3 separate regions of the Homo sapiens genome follow, and regions 1 and 3 are each linked to region 2. Evidence: promoter capture Hi-C in 16 types of primary human blood cells and fetal thymus (Javierre and others, 2016). All regions are on one chromosome and are shown on one strand. The core of a region is centred on a gene start or on the middle of the fragment in contact, and the rest is flanking DNA. Distances in the headings are between cores, read along the strand shown.

Region 1 (3,392 bases), core at 587-3,086, 270 kb after region 2:
GTAAAACAGACCGACAAAACAATCTTATCTTTTTTTTCTTTATGTCAGTGTTTAATACTCTCCTGTATGGCTTAGGAAAATTAAAGAAGATACAACAGAATATGCCTCAAATAAGACCTATTTGTTGATATTTAATATATTTATGATAGTTGCTGATAAAATGAAAACAGACATTATTCAATACACTGGATAATAATTACATAAATACAAAGTGTTTGGTGTTTTCATTTGCCTTTCTCAAATACTTTTTTTCTTTCTAGAGAGTTTAATGCACTGACGGGGGGTGGGGGGCGGTCCTATAATGGCACTGCAGGCTCAAATGGTGGTTAAAGCAGATTGCAAATACAGTGCTGTATGTTTCATATTATATTACCCTGTCTGTGAAAGTTGTATTGGATGTCTAAGATTCTGGTGGCATAAGTAATAGAAACATTAGGGTGATCAGAGTTTGTGTAGGACCATATTTGCTGGAAGGTGTTAGAAGAAGGAATAATGTAATACTTAAAGCCCAGTCTAAAACAAAGTGTGATTCTGTTTTACTAAGCATGTACCATTCAGGATACTGAACTGCAGAATTCTGTTCCAGAGGTGCTGGAGAGTGGTTCCTTCATTGCTAATTTTGCAGAGATTTTGGGCCTTAGGATGGGGAACTTGAGAGGTATGGGGAGCGAGAGGGTAATTCATGTTTCTATAGATTTAAAAAACTGCATTTTCAAATCAAAAGACTCAGGAGTGGGTACTAAATAGAAATTGGATCCATCTGTGAGTCTCAAAGCACCTTGGAAAAATGTAACTCATTTGAGTTACTCATTTGCCTTGAGAAAGGTAACTTGGAAAAATGAGTTACATTTTTACAAGGTGCCTTGGACTCACAGATATAGCCATTCACTAGTGTGTATTACTGGATCTAGGAATGCTGCAAAAAATCAAGGAGAGCATCTTGTAGAGACCATATAGATGGCAGAACATGTAGACAGAGCAGTATTCATAAGTATATTTTGAATCCTAATTCCCATGTCTTCTCTTCTGTTTGCTTAGAGAATGGTGGCAGAAAATATCCTGAATGAGGATGGGCAATTTTCTCAGTGGAAAGAAATGGGTTGAGGTTAATTTAACTATCATGATATTGGATGGTGGGTCCCCACATAGATCCAAATCTGCATTGGTCTTCACCAAAGTTGTGGGTTATCAGTGATTTTACTCAGCTGTAATATATAGTAGTTCAGTACAGTAATCCCAGAAAAAAAGTTTTTCCTCCCTGGCTATCACTTTTCTATCAGGAATTTGGATACAAGGTATAATATAAAACTATCTTTAAGGTTTTACCGGGCTACTGAAGACTTAATGAAAACTTTAATAAAGCATTTACATTGGTATAAAAGTACCAAAAGCAAACCCATCACTCAAACCCGTAAATTCCAAGGCTATACTAATCTACAGTGTGGATTCTGAGATCATCAATAATTAAAGACTCTAGAAAATGTAACTTCTTGCTGTAAAAGACAGTCCACTCCTAATCATCATGTCATCATTTATGAACTAGGTCCCAAGGAGCCATATCTGCTTTAAGACCATATCTGCTGTTTCCTGTGTTTCAGATCCAGATCACAGAAAAAAAAATAGATATTTGGGCTTCATAATACCACCTTCCCTTCACCCTAAAGCCTTCAATAGAGGTAGATTAAAGACAAGTACAATTCTATGATTACTGCCAGAGATCTGGAGTTACTGTAAGCTGAAAGGAAACAATATAACCAGGTCTTCATTTTCACCAAACTGCCTCTGCACTTATCAAGTATGAAAACACAGCCCTAGAGTGTGCATTTTAGCAGCACACTGCCATAAACAGAGACTTAGAAAAACACCCAAGTAACTTATTTGCTTCTGGTTTCCCAGGATGTGCAGTACTCCATGACAGTGGACACAAAGAATCTGTTTGTAAGGCCCATAAGAGTCAAGTTCTGTATGAGAGAAACAGACACTACTACTACCATGAGCTAGCAGCATGGTGTTGGTGTGGTTGGTAATATTTGATGGCAATGGCAATTCTCCTTTGTGTTATATTTAATGCAGAACGGATTATGTGATGTTCAAGGTGGTGGCAGTAGAAGGAGACTAGGTCTGGAAGGTCTTCATGTCCTATCAGTTACTCAAAGACTTGAGTCTCCATCTGTATAGCGTGTTAGCCCAACACTGGGAAGTGTGCACACTAGGTTTGTGAGTGATGGTAATCTAGCCAATCATAGACTTCAGGTTATGGTCAAGGACACTGAGATGCCACCTATGTATTCCAGATTCAGACAACAACTGCTGCTGGTCAGCTGTTTCTTTCAGCTCTACTGGCTACATCTTGACAGACCTCAGGAATATGGGGTCTGTCACTTAGATTCCTCACTTAGCATATACTATGGTTTTAGTATTCCTTTGTTTTCTTGTTGGCCTGCTTCTTTACACAGTAGATGTTCAAATAATTACTGTGATATGAAAATATGTTATAATTTTCAAGTATTTCCTTATATTTCTTTAGCATATCTAAATTGATTATTTATGCTTTGTATTTTGTAGTCAGAGTTTCAGGTTTCTTCCCCTCACCCCGTATTCTTTGCCCTCTCTACACCTTTGGATTTCTTCATTATTTACTAATTTTCGATATTGTATTTAGCCATATTATTTTCTTTTCTTTTTTTTTTTTTTTGAGATGGAGTCTCGCTCTGTTGCCCAGGCTGGAGTGCAGTGGCGCCATCTCAGCTCACTGCAAGCTCTGCCTCCCGGGTTCACGCCATTCTCCTGCCTCAGCCTCCCGAGTAGCTGGGACTCCAGGCGCCTGCCACCATGCCCAGCTAATTTTTTGTATTTTTAGTAGAGACAGGGTTTCACCGTGTTAGCTAGGATGGTCTCGATCTCCTGACCTCGTGATCCACCTGCCTTGGCCTCCCAAAGTGCTGGGATTACAGGCATAAGCCACAGCACCCAGTCCATATTTTCTTTTAAAGTAAAATTTCAATAGTGATCTTAGTGAAAATTCAATCATCTACCAGATTACCTAAACCTGATTTAAGTTTTAACCTATTTTAATCATAAAAAAAAGTCTGAGATTTTTGGAAGAGGTCATACCTCTGTCTCTCTCATCTCTATTTCCATCTATATCTGTCTATCTAGCTTTATCTGCAGTCCTGGTCAAGATTTTTATTTTCAAGGGGACAGATTGTCCTAATAGACTCTGATGGTTCTCCTTAAACAAAATTGGGCAAGATTCTTGTGCAGGTATCATTTTAAAAACCTTTTCTTGCTTATTTGTACTGTGGGAAGAGAATAAACAACACCATTTCCCCTTTTTGAGTTATATTTATTTCTTGTTTCATTTGCTTGTTTGTTTGTTGTTGTTGTTGTTG
Region 2 (3,428 bases), core at 365-2,864:
TACTATAATTTATTCCATAGCTTTGTAGTTTTACATTATTTACTGTTATATAATAGAAAGTGGCTAACATCAGCTAATGCTGTTTTCTAAATATTTATTATCATTTTCTTATGTTTTTAACCATTGTGTATTAAAATATTTCAAAATTATCAGTATGAAAACTATTAGGCAAATAGTCTGGGAAATTGATTTGTGTTTCAACGATCCAAATATTAGTGAAAAGTCATGATAATAGAGATAGTAAAAATCTTATAAGGGAACTGGTAAATATATCTTTAAAGATTGTATCAGAAACAATTCTATGACAATATCTTGTTTCTTTACAAGTTTGAATTCCAGAAATCAAGTGAATTTCCTCTGACTTTGCATTTTCTGGTAATTTCTTTTTTCTTATCAAGCTATATTTTAAATGTAAAAGTATCCAACAATAGAATTGCTAATCTCTTGGTCCCTCTTGTCTTCACAGGTAAGGGATATTTTGTAATATTTAAGGAATTTTATGGAGTATATATACAAGCAGAATGTTAGCTATTTCTTCAATAGAAAACTTGGTGATATTTTCTTTTGCCCATATTTATTAAGTGAAGTTTACTAAATTTTCTAGGTCGTGTTCAAATCATACCATCCAGTAAACAGTTGGGAGATTAAAAAGTAATTAAACTAATATAAAGATAGCCTGGTTAATAAAATGATATTCTTTTCAACATGATTATATTTACTGGAACCTAAACATTTTGTGAAATAGTATGTCATATAGACAATATTAGGATTTTGACTTGTTATGTAAGTACAAAGGTATGTATTTTACAATTTTTAATAATTGCTTTATCAGTAATAGCAACTTGAAGAAATGCTATCTAGATGCTTCTAATTTGAAAATAGTGCAAAGACGATTTACCAAAGTCGTTCTATTATGCTTTTGATTTCTAGAAAGCTGAAATATCCCCATTACAGTTTTTGAGTCAATACAAAAAGTAGATAGGTGTTATAGATAAAGAAATAGGTTTTCATCGATTTGAAAATTAGAACTCCGAGAAGAAACTCAGGTAAGAATGCCATTAAAATAGTTTTAGTTGTTTTTGAAAATAACATCAACAAAATGTCACTATTAAACAGTGAAATTGGAATAAAAATTTGTTTTATGAGTAACACGGAGATAGCATACAAACATTCCATTGACTAATACAGAAAAAACTCAAAAGTTTTAATTAGATATGTTTAAATAGAGATGAGAAAAGTCAAAACTTTAACTCTTAAAAGTTATTTTTATCAGTTTGGAAATATATAAACTCCTCCCTATATAAAATACACCAGCACAAATTTCTCTAGTAAGGATTGGGGTTTCATGACTTTAGATGTATTTTTCTGTAATATTTTAATGACGCACTTATATTGACGCATTTTAAGATAGAGTTTAATGATATATTTTGACTAGAGATAAGTGATTTAAAGAATAAGAATCATGTCATTGAAAGTGAGAATACTTGAGAAATATTGACGAATATAAGCTAAATAAAGCAAAACAAAATAAAACACTTACCCTTTCATCCACATGATGTCGCTGGACACCGGAAGGTTTTTCTCCCTTCCCAGCCTCAAAGGAATACAGTGAGTAGATTTTCCTTAGACAGAAAGGAAAAGAACCTTCCATTTTTGGCTGTGCCAAGAAGCTCAGAAAGGCGATAATATAAAAAATATATAGTTAATTGGGAATTGAATTTACAAAATACATTGTGTGGTGATGCAATAGAAAGCTCATAATTGGAACGAGATTGAGATGGTATATTCCCGGAGAGGAAGTCTGGGATCCCGGCTCCTGCTGCTCTGGCTTCTCCTTGCCTACTGGAAGGCAGGGAGCGGCCAGCTCCACTACTCGATCCCGGAGGAAGCCAAACACGGAACCTTCGTTGGCCGCATCGCGCAGGACCTAGGGCTGGAGCTGGCGGAGCTGGTGCCGCGCCTGTTCCGGGTGGCGTCCAAGGGCCGCGGGGACCTTCTGGAGGTAAATCTGCAGAATGGCATTTTGTTTGTGAATTCTCGGATCGACCGGGAGGAGCTGTGCCGGCGGAGGGCGGAGTGCAGCATCCACCTGGAGGTGATCGTGGACAGGCCGCTGCAGGTTTTCCATGTGGAGGTGGCAGTGAAGGACATCAATGACAATCCGCCCAGGTTCTCCAGACAAGAACAAAGATTATTCATTTTAGAGTCAAGAATGCCAGATTCGCGGTTTCCGCTAGAGGGCGCGTCGGATTTGGATATTGGAGCAAATGCACAATTGAGATACAGGTTAAATCCAAACGAATATTTTGACTTAGATGTTAAAACAAATGAAGAAGAAACGAACTTTTTAGAGCTGGTTTTGAGGAAATCCTTAGATAGAGAAGAAACACAAGAACACCGTTTATTAGTGATTGCAACTGATGGAGGAAAACCCGAACTAACAGGTACAGTTCAGTTGTTGATCAATGTATTGGATGCTAATGATAACGCCCCAGAATTTGATAAATCCATTTATAATGTCAGATTGTTGGAAAATGCACCAAGTGGGACATTAGTTATTAAACTGAACGCCTCAGATGCAGATGAGGGCATCAATAAGGAAATAGTGTATTTCTTTAGTAATCTTGTTCTTGACGATGTAAAGTCCAAATTTATAATTAATTCTAATACTGGTGAAATAAAAGTTAACGGGGAACTGGATTATGAAGACTATAACTCATATGAAATTAATATTGATGCCATGGATAAAAGTACATTCCCATTATCAGGACACTGTAAAGTAGTAGTGAAACTCCTGGATGTGAATGATAATACCCCAGAGATGGCCATAACCACCCTTTTCCTGCCTGTCAAAGAGGACGCTCCACTCAGCACGGTCATTGCTCTGATCAGCGTGTCTGACCGTGACTCAGGTGCCAACGGGCAGGTGACCTGCTCCCTAATGCCCCACGTTCCCTTCAAGCTGGTGTCCACCTTCAAGAATTACTACTCGTTGGTGCTGGACAGCGCCCTGGACCGCGAGAGCGTGTCGGTCTATGAGCTGGTGGTGACCGCGCGGGACGGGGGCTCGCCTTCGCTGTGGGCCACCGCCAGCGTGTCTGTGGAAGTGGCCGACGTGAACGACAACGCTCCGGCGTTCGCGCAGCCCCAGTATACCGTGTTCGTGAAGGAGAACAACCCGCCAGGCTGCCACATCTTCACGGTGTCTGCACGGGACGCGGACGCGCAGGAGAACGCCCTGGTGTCCTACTCGCTGGTGGAGCGGCGGGTGGGCGAGCGCCCGCTGTCGAGTTACGTTTCGGTGCACGCGGAGAGCGGCAAGGTGTACGCGCTGCAGCCGCTGGACCACGAGGAAGTGGAGCTGCTGCAGTTCCAGGTGAGCGCGCGCGACGCGGGCGTGCCGCCTCTGGGCAGCAACGTGACGCTGC
Region 3 (3,119 bases), core at 517-3,016, 300 kb after region 2:
TACTTAACAGAACACTCCATCTAACAACAGCAGAATACACATTATTTTCAAGTGCATATGAAACATTCTCCAGGATAGACTATATTTTAGGCCATAAAACAAGTCTTAATGAATTTGAAAGAGTTAAAATCATATAAAGTATGTTTTCCAGCTACAATGAAATGAAATTAGAAAGCAGTGGCAGAAGAAAATTTGGGAAATTCACAAATATGTGGAAATTAAACATTTAAAAAAACAATGAATCAAAGAAGAAATCACAAAGGACATTAAAAAATACTCTGAAATGAATAAAAATGAAAATGCAACATACCAAAACTTATGGGATACAATAAAAGTTGTGCTTAGAGGGAAAATAATAGCTGAAATACTTATATATTTTAAGAAGATCTCAAATCAGTAACCCAGACTTCCACCTTAAGAAGCTAGAAAAAGGAGAGCATACTAAAACCAATACAAGCTGAAGAAAGGAAATTATTAGAGTGGAAATAAATAGAATAGAAAAACAATGGAGAAAATAAACTAAAAGTTGGTGCTTTGAAAAGATCAATAAAATTGGCAAAGCTTTAGCTAGGCTGATGATGAAAAAAGAGGACTCAAATTACTAAAATTAAAAAAAAGGAGGAAAAAGTATGACCTATTTCACAGGTCTTAAGGGAATACTATAAACAATTTTAAGCCAACAAATTAGAAAACCTAGATGAAATGGAAAAAAAAAACCCTAGATTAAATGGAAAACACAAACTACCAAAATTGACTAAGGAGAAATAGAAAATGTGAATAGACCTGTAATTGCCAAAACTGACTAAGGAGAAATACTAGGTTGGTGCAAGAGTAGTTGTGGTTTTGCCATCACTTTCAATGGCAAAAAACACAATTACTTTTACACCAACCTAACAAAAAACCTGAATAGACCTGTAATAAGAGATCGAACCAGTAATCAAAAACTTTCCACAAAGAAAAGCCCAGAACCAGATGGCTTCACTGGTCAATTCTACCAAATGTTTAAAGAAGAATTAACACCAGTACTTAATATACTCATTCAAAAAATAGAGGAGCAGGGACCACTTTTCAACTCTATTCTATAGAGGCCAGTATTAACATGATGACAAAACCAGACAGTGATAACACAAGGGAAAAATACATACCAATTTCTCTTATGGATATAGATGCAAACATTCTCAACAAAATTTTAGCAAACTGACTCTAGTATCACATAAAAATGATTACATACCATGGCCAAGTAGGATTTATCTCAGGAATGCAAGGTTGGTTCAGCATGTTAAAATCAAACAATGAGCCAGTTGCAGTTGTTCATATCTGTAATCCCAGCATTTTGGAAGGCCAAGGTGGAAGGAATGCTTGAGGCCAGGAGTTCAAGACCAGGATGATCAACATAACAAGACCCCATCTCTACAAATTTTTTTTAATTAGCTGAATATGGTGGCTTGCACCTGTAATCCCAGCTACTCAGGAGGCCAAGGCATGAAGATTGCTTGAGCCCAGGAGCTCGAGGCTGCAGTGAGCTATGATGGTGTCACTGCACTCCAGGGGCCTGTGTGACCTTGTCTCAAGAAAAAAAGATTTAAAAAGGGATTTGAGGCCGGGCGCGGTGGCTCACGCTTGTAATCCCAGCACTTTGGGAGGCCGAGGTGGGCAGATCACGAGGTCAGGAGATCGAGACCATCCTGGCTAACACGGTGAAACCCCGTCTCTACTAAAAATACAAAAAAAATAGCCGGGCGTGATGGTGGGCGCCTGTAGTCCCAGCTACTCGGGAGGCTGAGGCAGGAGAATGGCGTGAACCCGGGAGGCGGAGCTTGCAGTGAGCCGAGATTGCGCCACTGCACTCCCGCCTGGTCCACAGAGCGAGACTCCGTCTCAAAAAAAAAAAAAAAAAGGGATTTGAATATACCTAGTCCTAAAGTTAAAAATGTTAAATTCATACTATTTTGAATAGTCTATTTTAAAAATGAAAGAGTATTTTTAAAACTTCACCATGACTTGAGGATGGTTTTGTTCTTACTTTGAAAGGGGAGAATAGAGGAAAATTAAACATTAATTTTTGAGAGAAAGAGATAAATTTGACTATTATTTCTTTAAATCATATTTCCAATAGCACTATTTCAAAATGTTAAGCTCTCAATAATAAATGGTTACTATCAATGGTTTGTGGAATTTATTAGAAATTCTTATAAAAGGAATGATCTCCTGGAATGTTCTATTAAATGGGTACAATAGATACATCAGCTGACCATTTGAATGAAATAGCTGTAAAGCAAACAATAGTGCTCAGTGGTGAAAGCAAAGTAAATTTTACATTAGCTAACTTTCCAAACTTAAACCTATAAGATATTTTTAAAGTCACACTCACTGAAATGTACATGTAGGAAGGGGATACTTGAATAATTAGAGTTTGACTTGAGAAATTTGTGATGGAATCTAAGATAATTTCTAATAATTTTTTCTAGAATAAAAATAGCATTTATAAGTTTAATATATCAAAATACTCAAATATGTGATATATAACTTAGAATATATCTTTACAATCAGAAAGTGTGGGCTTTTCAACTTTGTTCCTCTTTTCCCAAGATTGTATTCTGGGTACCTCGCATTTTCATGTGAATTTTACGGTCACTTTACCAATTTCTGCAAAAAAGCCAACTGAAATTTTGATAGGGATTGCACTAAATCTGTAGAGCAATTTGGAGCATACCAATATTTTAACAATCTTAAGTCTTCCAATCCATGAACACTTTTCATTTACTTAGATCTTCTTTAATTTCTTTCAATGATGTTTTGTAGTGCTCAGTGTTCAGTTCTCCCACTTCTTTTGTTAAATTTATTCCTAAGCATTTTATTCCTTTTGATGATATCTATTATAAATTCCATTGCTTTCTTGATTTCATTTTTGATTTGTTCAATGCTACTGTATAGAAATACAATTGATTTCTGTATAGTGATCTTGTATTCTGCAAGCTTGCTGAACTCATTTATTTATTTTAGTAGTTTTTGGTTTTATTTTTTTGAGAAAGAGTCTCACTCTGTCACCCAGGCTGGAGTGCAGTGGCACAGTCATGGCTCACTGAAGCCTCAATCTCCCAGGCTCAAGCAATCCTCCC

The links. The method cuts DNA at HindIII sites, captures the fragments that hold promoters and counts their contacts. A CHiCAGO score of 5 or more calls a contact.
Region 1: a contact is called between a fragment that was not itself captured here and the fragment with the promoter of PCDHA5 in region 2, in 1 of 17 cell types (M2 macrophages). The highest score is 5.2, in M2 macrophages.
Region 3: a fragment that was not itself captured here is called in contact with the fragment with the promoter of PCDHA5 in region 2 in 1 of 17 cell types (erythroblasts); the score reaches 5.5 in erythroblasts.

What each region holds. Positions count from the first base shown.
Region 1 is chr5:141,086,893-141,090,284 of GRCh38, forward strand. It overlaps PCDHB@. Among named protein-coding and RNA genes, the nearest start is that of PCDHB2, 6.0 kb to the right of the region's middle. The HindIII fragment of the contact is 4,657 bases long and covers 1-3,392 here.
Region 2 is chr5:140,819,999-140,823,426 of GRCh38, forward strand. PCDHA5 (protocadherin alpha 5) reads left to right here and starts at 1,615. Exons shown (of 4, transcript NM_018908.3): 1 at 1,615-3,428. The coding sequence starts at 1,778. The region is part of intron 1 of PCDHA1 (protocadherin alpha 1); the gene reads left to right. The region is part of intron 1 of PCDHA2 (protocadherin alpha 2); the gene reads left to right. All of the region lies in intron 1 of PCDHA3 (protocadherin alpha 3), which reads left to right. It also overlaps PCDHA4 and PCDHA@. The HindIII fragment of the contact is 13,774 bases long and covers 1-3,428 here.
Region 3 is chr5:141,115,672-141,118,790 of GRCh38, forward strand. It overlaps PCDHB@. Among named protein-coding and RNA genes, the nearest start is that of PCDHB4, 4.6 kb to the right of the region's middle. The HindIII fragment of the contact is 2,415 bases long and covers 560-2,974 here.